Linked DNA regions of Homo sapiens: region 1 is linked to region 2. Evidence: promoter capture Hi-C in 16 types of primary human blood cells and fetal thymus (Javierre and others, 2016). All regions are on one chromosome and are shown on one strand. Each heading gives the region's core, a stretch centred on a gene start or on the middle of the fragment in contact. The rest is flanking DNA. Distances are from core to core; before and after follow the strand shown.

Region 1 (7,008 bases), core at 3,583-6,082, 3.6 Mb after region 2:
GGAGGCCGAGGCGGTGGATCACCTGAGGTCAGGAGTTCCAGACCAACCTAGCCAGCATGGTGAAACCCCGTCTCTACTATAAAACAAAAAAATTAGCTGGGCATGGTGGCAGTCACCTGTAATCTCAGCTACTCAGGAGGCTGGGGCAGGAGAATCACTTGAACCCAGGAGGCGGAGGTTGCAGTAAGCCGAGATCGCACCATTGCACTCCAGCCTGGGTACCAAGAGCGAAACTCCATCTCAAAAAATATATATATTATATATATACTATATATATTACTACTACTGCCTTTTAACCAACAAAATTAAAAAAATACAAAACAATGTTAATAGGATTTTATAAAACTACTTTTTCCAACATGCCCCAAACAATACAGAACACAATAGCTACACTCAACCTCTGCATACATTAAATAATCTTCAAATAAATGCCTGCTAGTATGAAAAAAGTACCTACTATTTGGTGACCAACTGTCCAATATGGCTCTCACAAATCTAATGCAGCATATGAAACATGAACAAGAGGATAAAAGAATAACTTCTTGGAGTCTGTTTAAAATAGAGAGTTAAATGAACAAAGTTGAAGCAGATCATGGCACATTTTTCAAGGCAGAGAGACAGGGAGGCAACAATGTCTGAAACAATGAACACTCTTAGGCTAAATATACCACCAGGGACTCAGATGTCACACTAACTGGGAACTACTATGTCAGTTTCTATAACTCCTATAATTAAAGAACAATATCCTAAACTATTAGCCAGAAGGCTTTTAGAGGCAAAGTCCTGACTACACAAAAATGTAAAACAATATAGTAAAAAATATAAAACAAAGTTAACTAAATAGATTGAAAATATCTGCCACATATCTAACAGTCAATGGCTTAAATCCCTACACAAAGAACTCCTAAAAATCAATAAAGACAAAACTCCATACGGAATGGCAAATTATAAAGTTTTTCCTTGCTTCATTTTTCAAGTCTTAAAATGCTCCTCACGGGTTCTTTCACAGCATTTTTCCTGGGCCTGGCCTCCCACGTAGTTGTTGGAAAACCATCACTCTCTAAACCACAGCCACATACCCATAAGGAGGTCTCCAGGGCTACAAAAAATTAATCTCATGTGCTTTTCATTTAAAAGAACGGTAGCATAATCTAAAAGACTATCACATATCTGATAAATGACTTGTATCTAGAATATATAAAGAACTCTTGCAACTCAATTACAAAAAAGAACCTAATTTAAAAATGGGCAGAGGATCTGAGTACACATTTCTCCAAAGAAGATAAATAAATGGGCAATAAGCACTTGAAAAGATGCTCAACATCATTAGCCATCAGGGAAATACGATTTGAAACCATAATATTTTCAAAAAGTTAGGAGATTTTTAATGGTCGCAACACAAAGAAAAGATGAACGTTTCAGGTGGTGGACATACTAATTACCTGATTTGATCACTACACATTGTATACATTTATCAAAATATCACTCTGTAGTCCCTAAATATGTACAATTATTACATGTCAACGAAAAAGAATGAAAACACAATGACACACACTTCACACCCACTGGAATGGCTAGAATCAGAAAGACAGATAATGACAAGTGTTGGCAAGGAGTGAGAAATCAAAACCCTAATACACTACTGGTGCGAATGTTAAAAAGATGCACACTGATGCTTTGGAAAACAGTCTGACCATTTCTTAAAATGTTAAACAGAGCTACCATATGACCCAGCCATTTCACTCCTAGGCACATACGCAAGAGAAATGAAAACATGATGTCCACACAAAAACTTGTAGGTGAATGTTCACAGCAGCATTACACATAATGGCCAAAAGGTGGAAACAATCCAAACGTCCACTAACTAATGGAAAATAAATCGTGGTAATACCCATAAAAGATTAACCAGCAATAAAAAAAAGTACTGACACATGCTATTAAATACAACACAGATGAACATGAATGTTAAGTAAAAGAAGCCAGTTGAAAAAGACCACATGCTGTATGATTTCACTCACATGAATAATCCAGAATAGTCAAATATACAGTCAGTCAATTCATAGTTGCTTAGGGCTTAGAATGGGGAGTGGGGATGGGGAAGTCAGGTGAGCCTGCTGAATAAGTACAGGGTTTCCTTTTGGAGTGATGAAAATGTTCAATTGTTCCAATATGGCTCTCACAAACTGAATGCAGCATATTAAACATGAACAAAAGAATACAAGAATAACTTATTGGAGTCTGTCTGAAATAGAAAATTAAACCAACTAATGAAGGTGAAGAAGATTACAGCATATTTTATGATGATGGTTGTACAACTTTGTGAATGTACTAATGTACTAATTACTTTTAGGTTTTCTTTCTTTTTTTTTTTTTTTGAGATGGAGTCTAGCTCTCTCGCCCAGGCTGGAGTGCAGTGGCGCAATCTCGGCTCACTGCAAGCTCCACCTCCCGGGTTCACACCATCCTCCTGCCTCAGCCTCCCAAGTAGCTGGGACTACAGGCTCCCGCCACCACGCCCGGCTAATTTTTTGTATTTTTAGTGGAGACGGGGTTTCACCGTGTTAGCCAGGACGGTCTTGATCTCCTGACCTCGTGATCCACCCGCCTCGGCCTCCCAAAGTGCTGGGATTACAGGCGTGAGGCACCGCTACGTTTTAAATGGTGAACTCTACGGTAGGTGAACTATGTGTCAGGAAGCTGTTTTATTTTTTTAAAGGACTGAAGACTTTTGTTTTGTGTTTTGTTTTGTTTTCATTTTATCCCGTTTTTAAAACAGTGCCTAGCAATATTATGAATTCAATCGATTTTGGCTAAATGCTAGAACAAAAATTAAAACTTGAGTAAACCATATAAAACTTTGCCATATCTAAAGTTATTAAATTACCGTAGACTGGCATGGTGGGAGCATAATATGAGTGTACCTGCAGGTGTGTTTTCCATGAAAGTAGCAAAGACTGAAAAACTCAGCAGAATCAAGACCCTGTAGGCCCTTGAAGTTAGGCTAAGAAATGTGTATTATCCTGAAAGCAACGGGAAGGCCAGGAAGATTCTGAGGACAGAAATAACACAATCTGATATGCGTTTTAAACGTGCAGGTGTAAGCGGAGAGTTGCTACTTCTATCCAAACGTGAGCCACCTCAGAAATAAAGCAATAGCCCTCCGGGGAGAATGGGGAGGAATCAGGGGAAGACCGGAGAAACAGGTTATCAAATTATCAGAATCTCCATAGATTTTTTTAAATTACACAGCATCCACCCCCAAACACACATACAGACTGATAGGCACTGATATATACATAAATACATCCAATGTCCCCTACACAGAAAATCACTTTTGCAGTCAGCCCCTGTTGGGAGGGTTTTTCTGTTATTCAAGTGTGGTGGGGACAAAAAGTATTATAACCACTAAACCAGGTAATTCTTTCCTACAATAATTTGGGCAGCGTACTCCTCAGGGTGTTGAAATTTAGCACTACCAACAAAAGTGCCCAGTCCCAACTCTTCGAGAGGACCCTAACTCTTTACAGTGTGCTGTTGGGGATGGTCAGCAAAAACTGCAGGACAAGGTCAAGGTTAGCTCGACACAGCCTCCTAACTCCGAGCGGACGGAGCCACTGAAGGTTACCAGGTGCCAAAGAAGCTGCGCAGGGAGGCCGCGACCCGGCGCCGGCGCGAACCTCCGCGATGTGACCCGTGAGGGAACTCTCCAAGAAGCAGCGCACCCCGCGCGCAAAGGCGGCCCCCCGAATTGCAGGAACAAACGCTTCTTGCTGGGGGGAAGACGGAGACTCTTATACCGCGGGAGACTAACCTGTGAGCAACAGAAGCACCACGCTACAAAGAGCATGACGAGTTCTTCCAGGCTTGGGAAAGCACGGGTAAATGCCCGCGGTCCTGCGCGCCAGCGGGGAGCAGTAGAGACTTCCGGCGTCGGCTGCTCGCAGGGCTAGAGCGTCGAACCGGGACAACCGGAGGCTTCAGCTCACCTCGGATTGTAAATGCTAACACGGGTCCTCCGGCCGGCTGATCCAGAACTTAGGTCGCCGGGACGTGTGGCTTCTGCTTCTCAGACGCTCGGACTCGCGCCGGGAAGGGTTTCGCCTCCCCTGGTCCCCGCTTTTTTTTTTTTTTTCTGCGTCCGGTTATTGCAAATGCATTCAGTCCAGTAGCACTAGCCCAGGAAATATAAGCCACCGGCTCACGTTGCTCCTCACAGGTATGCGGCGCTTCCGCTGGCCTCCAAGGACACGAAGCCCCGGGCCGTCTGGCCCCCCACTCTAGCACTGAAATTCCTGCCGCCCCGTTCAGCTGACAAATTTGGCAGCACTAAATTTTATTTTATTCGACAAATTAAGTACCCAGTTAACACCAGGGAGTAACGGGGTAAGAAAATTTCAGAAGGCTGGTGGATAATAATAGCATTTACCTCATAAATTTGTTATGAGGATGTGAAGCACTTAGAGTAGTGTCTGGCAGTTTGTAGGCGCTCAGTAACTGTTAGCTGTTATTATTTTTATATTGATTATTCCATAGTCACCACTATTATCACCTTAATGTCAAGCTTGAAATCCAGTATCTTTCCTCTGCGAAGCCATCACTCCAAGACTAATTAACTTTAGACTGGGGCATTCTTCTTTAAACTCTTGCTCACACATCCCTATCAGAAAAAATATATATATATTTACATGTGTCATGTATGGCATTAATATATTATGCATGCTATAAAACTCACAAGACATCAAACTTTTGATGAGGTAAAAACAATTTTTAAACTTTTTTAAAAACTTCTAACAGAAGTTCTTTTCTTCCTCCACAACAATTAGGTTGCCAAACATACATTCTATCACTCTGGAATCCACTAGCTAAATGAGCACATTATCAAAGCAACCTACCGCTGAATTCTGACTTCCCAGAATGTTTCTTTTCCAAAGAATTAATAGAAACTAATCAGATTGTGAAGTGCTCGGCCATAAGGACTATTTAAATGGTTCTTAGAGAAAAAGAAGAAATAAAATAGGCATCCACTGAGTAATATTCATTGATGCAACATTGATTATTGACTTATTACATTTTCAAAGAGATTGAGGTTATAATACCTTACACCAAGCTTAATATTTCAAAGAATAAATCAACTAATAAAAAGCTTATGAGGTTTGGTATATGTGCATTTCATACAACGTTCATGAAAATGAACCCGAGATCAATTAGCTCCCGTTCTGTACCAGAAAGAGAAATATGTTTACTTTGTAAGTAATAAAACATTAAATAGGCTTTTCTGACCATTTGCTTGAAAACTCAGAACTTAACATTTCTATCACTGGACTTAAATCTGCTAAAGTTTTCGTCTAAATTTTACATTAAAAACAAAACTCTATAGTGAATAATGTTACCTATCCAATATTCATTTTCCTCTAACTCCTTTGTACCAAAATCCTTATTTTATTCAGATAGCTGCCCTGTTCCCAGAATCAAAATGATACTGATTAAACCAGTCATCACACAGAATTTTTTTGTCGTCTAAATTTTACATTAAAAACAAAACTCTATAGTGAATAATGTTACCTATCCAATATTCATTTTCCTCTAACTCCTTTGTACCAAAATCCTTATTTTATTCAGATAGCTGCCCTGTTCCCAGAATCAAAATGATACTGATTAAACCAGTCTTCACACAGAATTTTTTTGGAAATAGTTGCTAATCAAGGAACGAGTATATGACCCAGGTTGGCGCAATCTGACTGAAGGAAAGGACCTCTATTTCATGCTCAGGAGAAAGTTTCTGATATACTGTCCTCTTGACGTCGAAACATCTATCCCACACTGTCATTAGTAGCCATCTTGCCCATCACAAGGAATAAAACTGATGGACCAATGCTGAGGACAACTGAACAAGTTATAAAACAATGTCCTTGGTGACATCATTCCAAACCTGGAGCTCACCCTGTATCTGAATGCCTTGTAGGAATGTCTAATAAGTTTCCTTATTGTTTTTGTTTTCTGTTTTTCTGAGACTGAGTCTCACTCTGTCGCCCAGGCAGGAATGCAGTGGCATGATCTCAGCTCACTGCAACCTCTGCCTCCCGGGTTCAAGCAATTCTCCTGCTTCAGCCTCCCAAGTAGCTGTAACTACAGGCATGCACTGCCACGCCTGGCTAATTTTTGTATTTTTAGTAGAGAAGGGGTTTCACCATGTTGGCCAGGCTTCTCTTGAACTCCTGACCTCAGTGATCCACCCACCTTGGCCTCCCAGAGTGCTGGGATCCTTACTGTTTTCTGATAGAGATGCCATAAAGATTAAATGGGTTAAAATAGTGCTGGTCATATTGTAAGTATTTTAAGTGCTTAATAAATTTTAGTTATTATTAACTCACCTTAAGTCAGGGATTCTGTTTCTTATAGCCAAAATTACCCATCAAAATACACATTCTACCTCTCTTTTTCTATATATTTAAAGAAAGGGTCTGTTTTGATACTTTTAAACTAAGGAGCCAGGGAAGGGGTAGGAGGTGAAGAGAGGAGGGGCTGACTATAATGCTGTATGAGGGCTACTGTTAAGTGGTTAAATGGCTGCTTTGAGATTCACTCAAGAGCAGCAGGATCCTATAACTATCAAATCTGAATGAGGTTACTACACATCGTAGTTGTATGTATACATGAAAGTATCATTTCCTGCATATTAATATTGTGATCCACTGCCTTACTAAGTTGCTTTATTGTTTGGAGTTCATTCTGGTAGAATTTCTAAGATTGCAATCTTATCATTGAAATAGTTTTACCTACTTCTTTCCAAGTTTTATACCTCTACTTTCTCATATCTAATTGTTTTGGCTAGTATCTCCAGTAAAATATTTAATAATAATAATGACAGTAGACTTTTATGTCTTATTCCTATCTTTAATGAGATATCTTTAGAATTTTCCCATTAAGCATGATGCTGGTTTTAAGGACTGAAGTAGACATCTTTTATCATGTTAAGGAACTATCCACCTATTGAGAGAAAGAAGAAAA
Region 2 (7,451 bases), core at 2,810-5,309:
ATGTCTTCCAAATATGATATAAATACACTGGCACAAAATCCTAACTTCTGTTTTCGTCTTTACTAATAACCCAATGATCTAAGAGATGCTTCAGTAAATTATCTCCAAATGTCATTTCCTAAAGACAACATTTCTTACCTATAAAGTTCAATAAAGTATTTAAAAAAGTATTCCCTTTGCTTTAATTTCCATTATACATCATGACCTCAACATATCTGGAAAGACATAATGTTGGGAATAAGGACTTTTTCTTTAAAATACTGGGGAAAAATTACTAAGTTATCCCTTTTATATACAGGGTGTAGGTAGAACAATATAGTAGTTACAATCAGAATTTCTACATCCATTTATCACTTAAGTACCTACTATCTTGCAGACACTATTCTAAAAACTAAGGAAATGGGGGTAAATGAGAAAGTAACAGCTACCACTTATTGAGTGCTTACTATGTGCCAGGCTCTGGCTTAAGAGTTTCATACATAAATTCATTTAATCCTCCAACACAACACCTCTATGACACAGGTACTATTAATTTTCTCATCTTACACATGAGAAAATTGAGGCATAGAGAAGTGAACTCATCCAGCTAGTAACTTGTAGAAACAGCATTTCCAAAATCCTGGCTTTCATGGAGCTTTTATTAATCTAAAAGCCTTCCATTCTTATTTTCTAGTCTCTGTGAAATACCTAATGAACAAATTTCTGTGGGTATGGTTCAAATAGGAGGTGTGACCATTTTGTTTTTACACGTTTCTTTCTGGGAATGTTGAAACAAAAGTTTTACTAGCTCTATCTTCGTATTTTGTAACTTCAAAATGCCTAGAGTCTGTGTTACATGTTAAAACACCTGATTTTGGCCGGGCATGGTGGCTCACGCCTGTAAACTCAGCACTGTGGGAGGCTGAGATGGGTGGATCATTTGAGATCATGAGTTCGAGACCAGCCTGGTCAACATGGTGAAACTAAAAATACTAAAAATACTAAAAATACATGTTCTGGGCTGGGCACGGTGGCTCATGCCTGAAATCCCAGCACTTTGGGAAGCCAAGGTAGGGGATCACTTGAGACCAGGAGTTCAATCGAGACCAGCCTGGCCAACACGGTGAAACCCCATCTCTATTCAAAATACAAAAATGAGCCAGGCGCGTGCCTGTATTCCCAGCTACTCAGGAGGTCGAGGCGGGAGACTCGTATGAACCTGGGAGGCGGACGTTGCAGTGAGCCAAGATTGCGCCACTGCACTCCAGCGTGGGCAACAGAGTGAGACCCTATTTCAAAAACAAAACAAAACAAACAAAAAAAACAAAACATGGTCTCTACTAAAAATACAAAAATTAGCCAGGCATGGTGACATGTGCCTGTAGTCCCAGCTACTCAGGAGCCGAAGGTTGCAGTGAGCCAAGATTGCACCACTGCACTCCAGCTTGGGCAACAGACTCCATCTCAAAAAACAAACAAAAAACCACTTGATTTTTAAAAAATAGTTGGGGTAACAATTCTTCCATATTTTTCTCTCCAGAACTATAGGTATATATCCATAGCATCCCTTAATTTGGAAAACCACTTCTCTACTCCAGGTAGGCCCAGTGGTGTTCAAGGTCACAGAATCCTGTCTCATTATGGTGATGTGTCCATGATTCAAGTTAATTAGGTCTCACTGTGGCCTTGGCCACAGTTAATTGGTTCAATAATACAGAAACATGATCTAAGTATGGCAAATTTGTCTTCTCTTGGATTGATGGAGATGAGAGATGTTCTTTTTGCAATGGAAGTGATTTGAGGCTGCTGGTAGCTATCTTCTTTGGCCTCAAGAGAAACTAACTCCATAATGCTAAGAGGTATAGAGAAATTCAGATAGAACACTTTGATTTAGCAATGCATGGTCTATTCTTGCCTTTTCCAGTTAAATGAGTATAAAGTTATGCTTAAATGGGTTTCTGGGGCTTCAAGTTTTAATGCATTTTAACAGAAGCATTAGATAAAATGAGTATGAACAGAACTCTGTTATTCTCATCCTCATTATTTACGAACAAATACAGAGCTGTCTACAGCTCAAAGGATGGTTTACCTATTTCATTTTCAAAAATAATTTGCAAAACATTTACCTATGAACTCTAAGTGACTACAAAGCATTACTGTAGTAAGTCTACTTCTTTATCATACCACAAAACCACAATAGCTAGAAGACAAAATGTTTTATTTTAAAACATTGAAAAAACATTAAAAGACAAATGTCCATTATGTAACCAGGAATGTTAAATATATGGAAACGGTAAATCTCTAAAATGTGGTAGGTACTTCCAGAGCTAAATGTTGCAAGTTATCCTACTTTTTTCTCTAATATCAACAATACCTGATACGATGAAAAATAACAAAAAGACCTTACTAATTATCCAATCAAAGTCATCATCTTTGGGTAAATTTATATCAACACAACTTAAAGTTTTGTCCAAGATGTTCCTGACACATGAAGCTTCCAGTTGAATTTCAGAAATGTTAACAAAAGTATCTTCCTTTTTTGCCTGTGAATGTTTGAGTATTGCTGTATTGTTGGCTTATATCCACTACAGATACTGGTTCTAGGCCAGCCCAAGGATCTTCAAGCATTGAAGGCTTGAAATAATTTTCCAACTCATTAGACATTCTTTTTTCTCTAACACGCCCTGATCCAAATGGTGTAGATGTCCTTGGAGAACCCTTTAGAAAAAAAATCAGTTAAAAAAACACTTAGTAAAGATAATTGGTACTTCTTCCTTTAGCTAAAGGTTAGCGGGAATCACATTGCTGCTTAAAAGTTGTGACTTGAACCTAAATAATGTTCAATTACAAAGTCCATGCTTCCTTTAATCAAGTGTTCCTATTTTTTAAAAAAAGTACTTAAAGCAATTCGTTATTCTCATTTATTTATAATTCCATGACCACTGTCATCTCAAATACTTTTGTGTCTAATGTAGTAACTTTGCAGTAATTAAATACAAGCAGTGATGAAATCAAGTAATTATATTCAATTTTCCCTCGAAATTTTCACTTTTTTCAGGAGAAAACAATACTATAGTTTTAAAGTTTCTAGAACCTTTCTAGCTCATGAACATTTTCTTTACTCCTTAGCTCCAGGCTCAAAAGGGGTAGGGGGTTGGTGTAGAATACAGCAAGTTGGAAAACCACGTAGTTGCAAGTTGTAAACCACAGAAATCCCAGACATGCTAGAGATACTCTCTCTGTCTTTTGTATTTACTCTCACTAAAGGAATGGAAAACTTCCACTACCACCGATTTTCTTTTCAGGGAAGTTGGAGCAGAAGCCAGTGTAGCTCGAAAGAAAGATAAAAAAAAAAAAAAAAAAAAGAAAAAGAACTATTTCTTGAAACAAACTGGCAAGGCCTTTGGCAAACAGGAGGAAATGGAGAATTAGGAAAATCTGTGTACGGGTGGCAGTGTATTGGTTAAAAGCACGAGGGCTCGAAAACAGAACGTACGGCTCTGCCACTCTTTCGGATAATCTTCCGGAAGTCACTCAACTTCTCTAAGCCTCAGTTCGCTCATCTGCAAAATTGGGCTAACAATAGTACCTCAGAGAGGATTAGACAAAATAATCCACGTAAAGGGAATATTAGTACCGTGCCTGCCATAAAGTAAGAGCTCGGCAAACGCTGGCTATTATTATTACCTGGGGGTGGGTCTGCTGCTGCCCTGGGGAGTAGCCGAATTGCTGCTGGGACCCCGCGGGGGACCTGGAGTAGGAGCCAGGGTAGCCGCCAGGGGACGGAGACCCGAACCGGCCCCCCGGGAAGCTGCCGCCGTGTCGCGGAGAGTGACTGCTCCCGTACGGCCTAGACCGGGGCCCGTACGGCGGCGTGTGGTGCGGACTCCCGTACCCGTCTCGAGGGGAGGGCGGCCGTGGTCCGCCCCCGCCCGGGGTTCCCCGGAAGCTGCTTCCGCTACCCCAACCTCCTCCACCCGGACCAGGGTAAGGAGGAGTTGGGGGCCGAAAATTCTGTCGCTGCATATCAGGAGCCAAAGCCGAAAACCTCGCAGCCGCGTTCTCCCACCGGAACTGTATCAACCGGCCCTCCGCAGAGAACTGCTAGTCCTTTACCAAAACAGTCCTCCGACCGCAGCCACCCTACGGCACATCAGTTCCGGCGTCACAAAGGTTCCGCCAGGGGCGGCGGGATTACCTAAATCACTGACTTGGCGAGAGACTCAGTGGATTTAAGTGAAAAGAGGAAGAAAAGGAGACAGGAAAGGACGGACACCCAAGCCCAGCAACAACCTTTCCAGTCTGAGTGCCCTTGGTCTGACCGACAGACTAGAAGCTGGCCCAGCAGGCGACTAGTGCTCAGCCCCGCCCGGCGGGGGCGGGGTCTGCGGCGTCCGTGGGCGCCCCCCAGTGGCGGCGGGTGGCGCCGCACGGAGTTCGCCGCTTGCACCGGGACCGATGCCATCTGAGACGCACGCGATGCTGGCGACGCTGGCGAGGGTGGCAGCTCTGCGCAGAACCTGCCTCTTCTCCGGCCGGGGCGGCGGGAGGGGGCTGTGGACTGGCCGCCCGCAGTCAGGTACCCTCCGAGATTCGGTCTGGGTGGCTAAAGGGATCCCTGCCCCAGCTTGCCTCCTCGGGCGCCCTGAGGAGAGCAATTAGGGTCTGAAGTCTCTGCTGACCCCTTAGCGGTGGCTTTGCTCGCCTCCCTGCAACCCCGTTCCGTGGGCCTGCGGCCGGCCTGCCCCGCTCTGGCCGCCCAGGGTCGCCTCTGTCCCGTGCGTTGTTGTGACCGAGGGCTCCGTGCGCCGTGGGGTCCCGCTCCTGCGCGTCCCGCGGCTCGCGTTTGGGGCCTCTTTACTCCTGTCCTTTCGTCCGCCAAGTTTAAGTAACTTCGAAAATGCACACCAAGCCACATTTCAGAAAGGACTTTAGCCCGCTGCTTTGAATAACTTGACACTTCATGTACAATAAAAGATGCCCTTGTACAGTTACCTGTTGCAGAATTTTATTTAGAGGATGAAATTTAGCTTTACTACAGTGTTATAGAACTTTCTTTACTCCCTCTGAATTTGGGAATGGTAATCCACTATGAATCTTTTTTTTCCTTTTTTCTTTTTTTCTCTTTTTTTTGAGACGGAGTCTCGCTGTCTCGCCCAGGCTGGACTGCAGTGGCGCGATCTCGGCTCACTGCAACCTCCTCCTCCCGTGTTCAGGAGATTTTCCTGCTTCAGCCTTCCGAGTAGCTGGGATTATAGGCATGCGCCACCACGCCCAACTAATTTTTGTATTTTTAGTAGAGACGGGGTTTCGCCATATTGGCCAGGCTGGTCTCGAATTCCTGACCTCAAGTTATCCTCCCGCCTCGGCCTCCCAAAGTGTTGAGATTACAGACGTAATCTCTATGATTATGCGCGCGGCCCACTATGAATCTTGAAATTAGTTGCAGGATGCAGGATTTTTTTTTTTTTTTTTGAGACAGTCTCGCTCTGTCGCCCAGGCTGGAGTGCAGTGGCGCGATCTTGGTTCACCACAACCTCTGCCTCGCGGGTTCAAGCGATTCTCTTGCCTCAGCTTTCTAGAGTAGCCGAGATTACAGGCATGTGCCACATGCCCGGCTAATTTTTTTGTATTTTTAGTAAAGACGGGTTTCACCATGTTGGCCAGGCTGGTCTCAAATTCCTGGGCTCAAGTGATCCGCCTGCCTCTGCCTCCCGAAGTGCTGGGATTTCATGCGTGAGCCACCGCGCCTGGCGTAGGATACAGAATCTTAAAAGAGCTTTAGGACTCATTAAATCATAGCCTAACGGGTAGCCTGGACCTGTGATTTCCATTCACCCTCTTGTAGCTGCTACTCCTCGCTGTCTCTTTGACATGTTCTGTGACATCCCAAGCTGACGAGTGTGGTATCTTCTCAGCTTCTATCCTCCTTGATGAATGGAGACACACACAGACAGTTTTTTTGTTTGTTTATTCTGTGGAAATTCAATTCACTACATTTCGTTTCTTCTGTAGATACAAGTGATAGACTTAATCAAGGTAGCACGTTGCCATTAAGGCTTAGTGATACAATTAAGGTCGGAGGACTCCAGCCTATCCACTTTATTAAATACAGTAGTTCTGTCCTGGCCAAAAATTCACCTTTCTGGACATTGTCTTTAGTGTTTAACTTAATGCTTGGGAATTGCTCATTTGAATATTTATTGAATAAAATGACCTAGGTGGGACGATTGCTTGAGCCCAGGAGTTGAAGACCAGCCTGGGCAACATCGTGAAGCCCCATTTCTACCAAAAATACAAAAAAAATTAGCCGGGCTTGGTGGCGTGCGCCTGTAGTCCCAGTTGCTTGGGAGGCTGAGGTGGGATGGCTTGAGTCCTAGGAGGTTGAAGCTGCAGTGATCCGCTATTGTGCCACTGCACTCCAGCCTGGGTAACAGAGCGAGACCCTATCATGCCCCCCCACCCCACTGGAAAAAAAAAAGGTTCACATACATCACATAGGTAATTTTCACCTTTTAGATCATCAGCCAGTCTACTCAGGGGAGGGGGCAGAAAAGTGAGAGTGGTGGGGACCAAAATTAACTTTATTATTATTATTATGGACATGGGGTGGTCTCACTCTGTCACCGAGGCTGGAGTGCGGTGGTGAGATCACAGATCACTGCATCCTCGACCTCCTGGGCTCAAGTGATCTTCCCACGTCAGTCTCCCAAGTAGCTGGGAGTACAGGCTCATGCTACCATGCCTGGCTAATTTTTTTATTTCTTTATTTTTTGTAGAGACAGGGTCTTGCTGTGTTTCCCAGAACTCCCCACCTCAAGCATTCCTCTCTCCTGCCTTGGCCTCCCAAAACTCTGCAATTAAATGGTGTGGTGAGCCACCATGCCCAACCAACAAATTAATTTAATAGTAAACAGTTTAACTGATGGACGCCTAATGAGTATATAGATCTTTATTCCATCAACCCATTTATCTGTATAACTTCAATCTAACTAAAGTTCACTAAAATTTATTAAAATTCAAAAGCCATGCTCTTTTTAAGCTTCTAGTAGTACATTTTGTAGCAAGATAAAAGTGACCAATAAAAAAGTTTGAGTTGTGTTTTTCTGTCGTATAGCAGTATACTCTCTCTATATATTTTTTATTTATTTAAGTATTGAGACATGTCTTGCTCTTTCATCCAGGCTGGAGTGCAGTGGCGCAATCCCAGTTCACTGCAACCTCTGCCTCTCTGGGCTCAAGCAATCCTTCCACCTCAGCCTCCCAAGTAGCTGAAACCAGAAGTGTGTGCCACCATGCCTGGCTAATTTTTGTATTTTTTGAAGACATGGGGTTTTGCCATGTTGCCCACACTGGTCTTGAACTCCTCAGCTCACAGAATCCAGCCACCTGGGCCTCTCAAAGTGCTGGGATTACAGGCATGAGCCCCCTGTGCCCCAGCCAGTTATGATTTTGTTTTGGCATATATTCAT

What was found. The method cuts DNA at HindIII sites, captures the fragments that hold promoters and counts their contacts. A CHiCAGO score of 5 or more calls a contact.
Region 1: a contact is called between a fragment that was not itself captured here and the fragment with the promoter of MPLKIP in region 2, in 1 of 17 cell types (total B cells). The highest score is 5.5, in total B cells.

The regions. Positions count from the first base shown.
Region 1 is chr7:43,725,618-43,732,625 of GRCh38, forward strand. It overlaps COA1 (cytochrome c oxidase assembly factor 1), which reads right to left and starts at 3,906. Exons shown (of 6, transcript NM_018224.4): 1 at 3,812-3,906. RefSeq lists enhancers at 3,192-3,921, 3,922-4,650, 4,017-4,216. The HindIII fragment of the contact is 546 bases long and covers 4,560-5,105 here.
Region 2 is chr7:40,130,563-40,138,013 of GRCh38, forward strand. MPLKIP (M-phase specific PLK1 interacting protein) reads right to left here and starts at 4,060. Exons shown (of 2, transcript NM_138701.4): 1 at 3,667-4,060; 2 at 1-2,697. The coding sequence starts at 4,005. The coding sequence ends at 2,497. SUGCT (succinyl-CoA:glutarate-CoA transferase) reads left to right here and starts at 4,443. Exons shown (of 14, transcript NM_001193313.2): 1 at 4,443-4,558. The coding sequence starts at 4,459. RefSeq lists silencers at 3,786-3,855, 4,316-4,515 and an enhancer at 4,066-4,135. The HindIII fragment of the contact is 4,548 bases long and covers 2,472-7,019 here.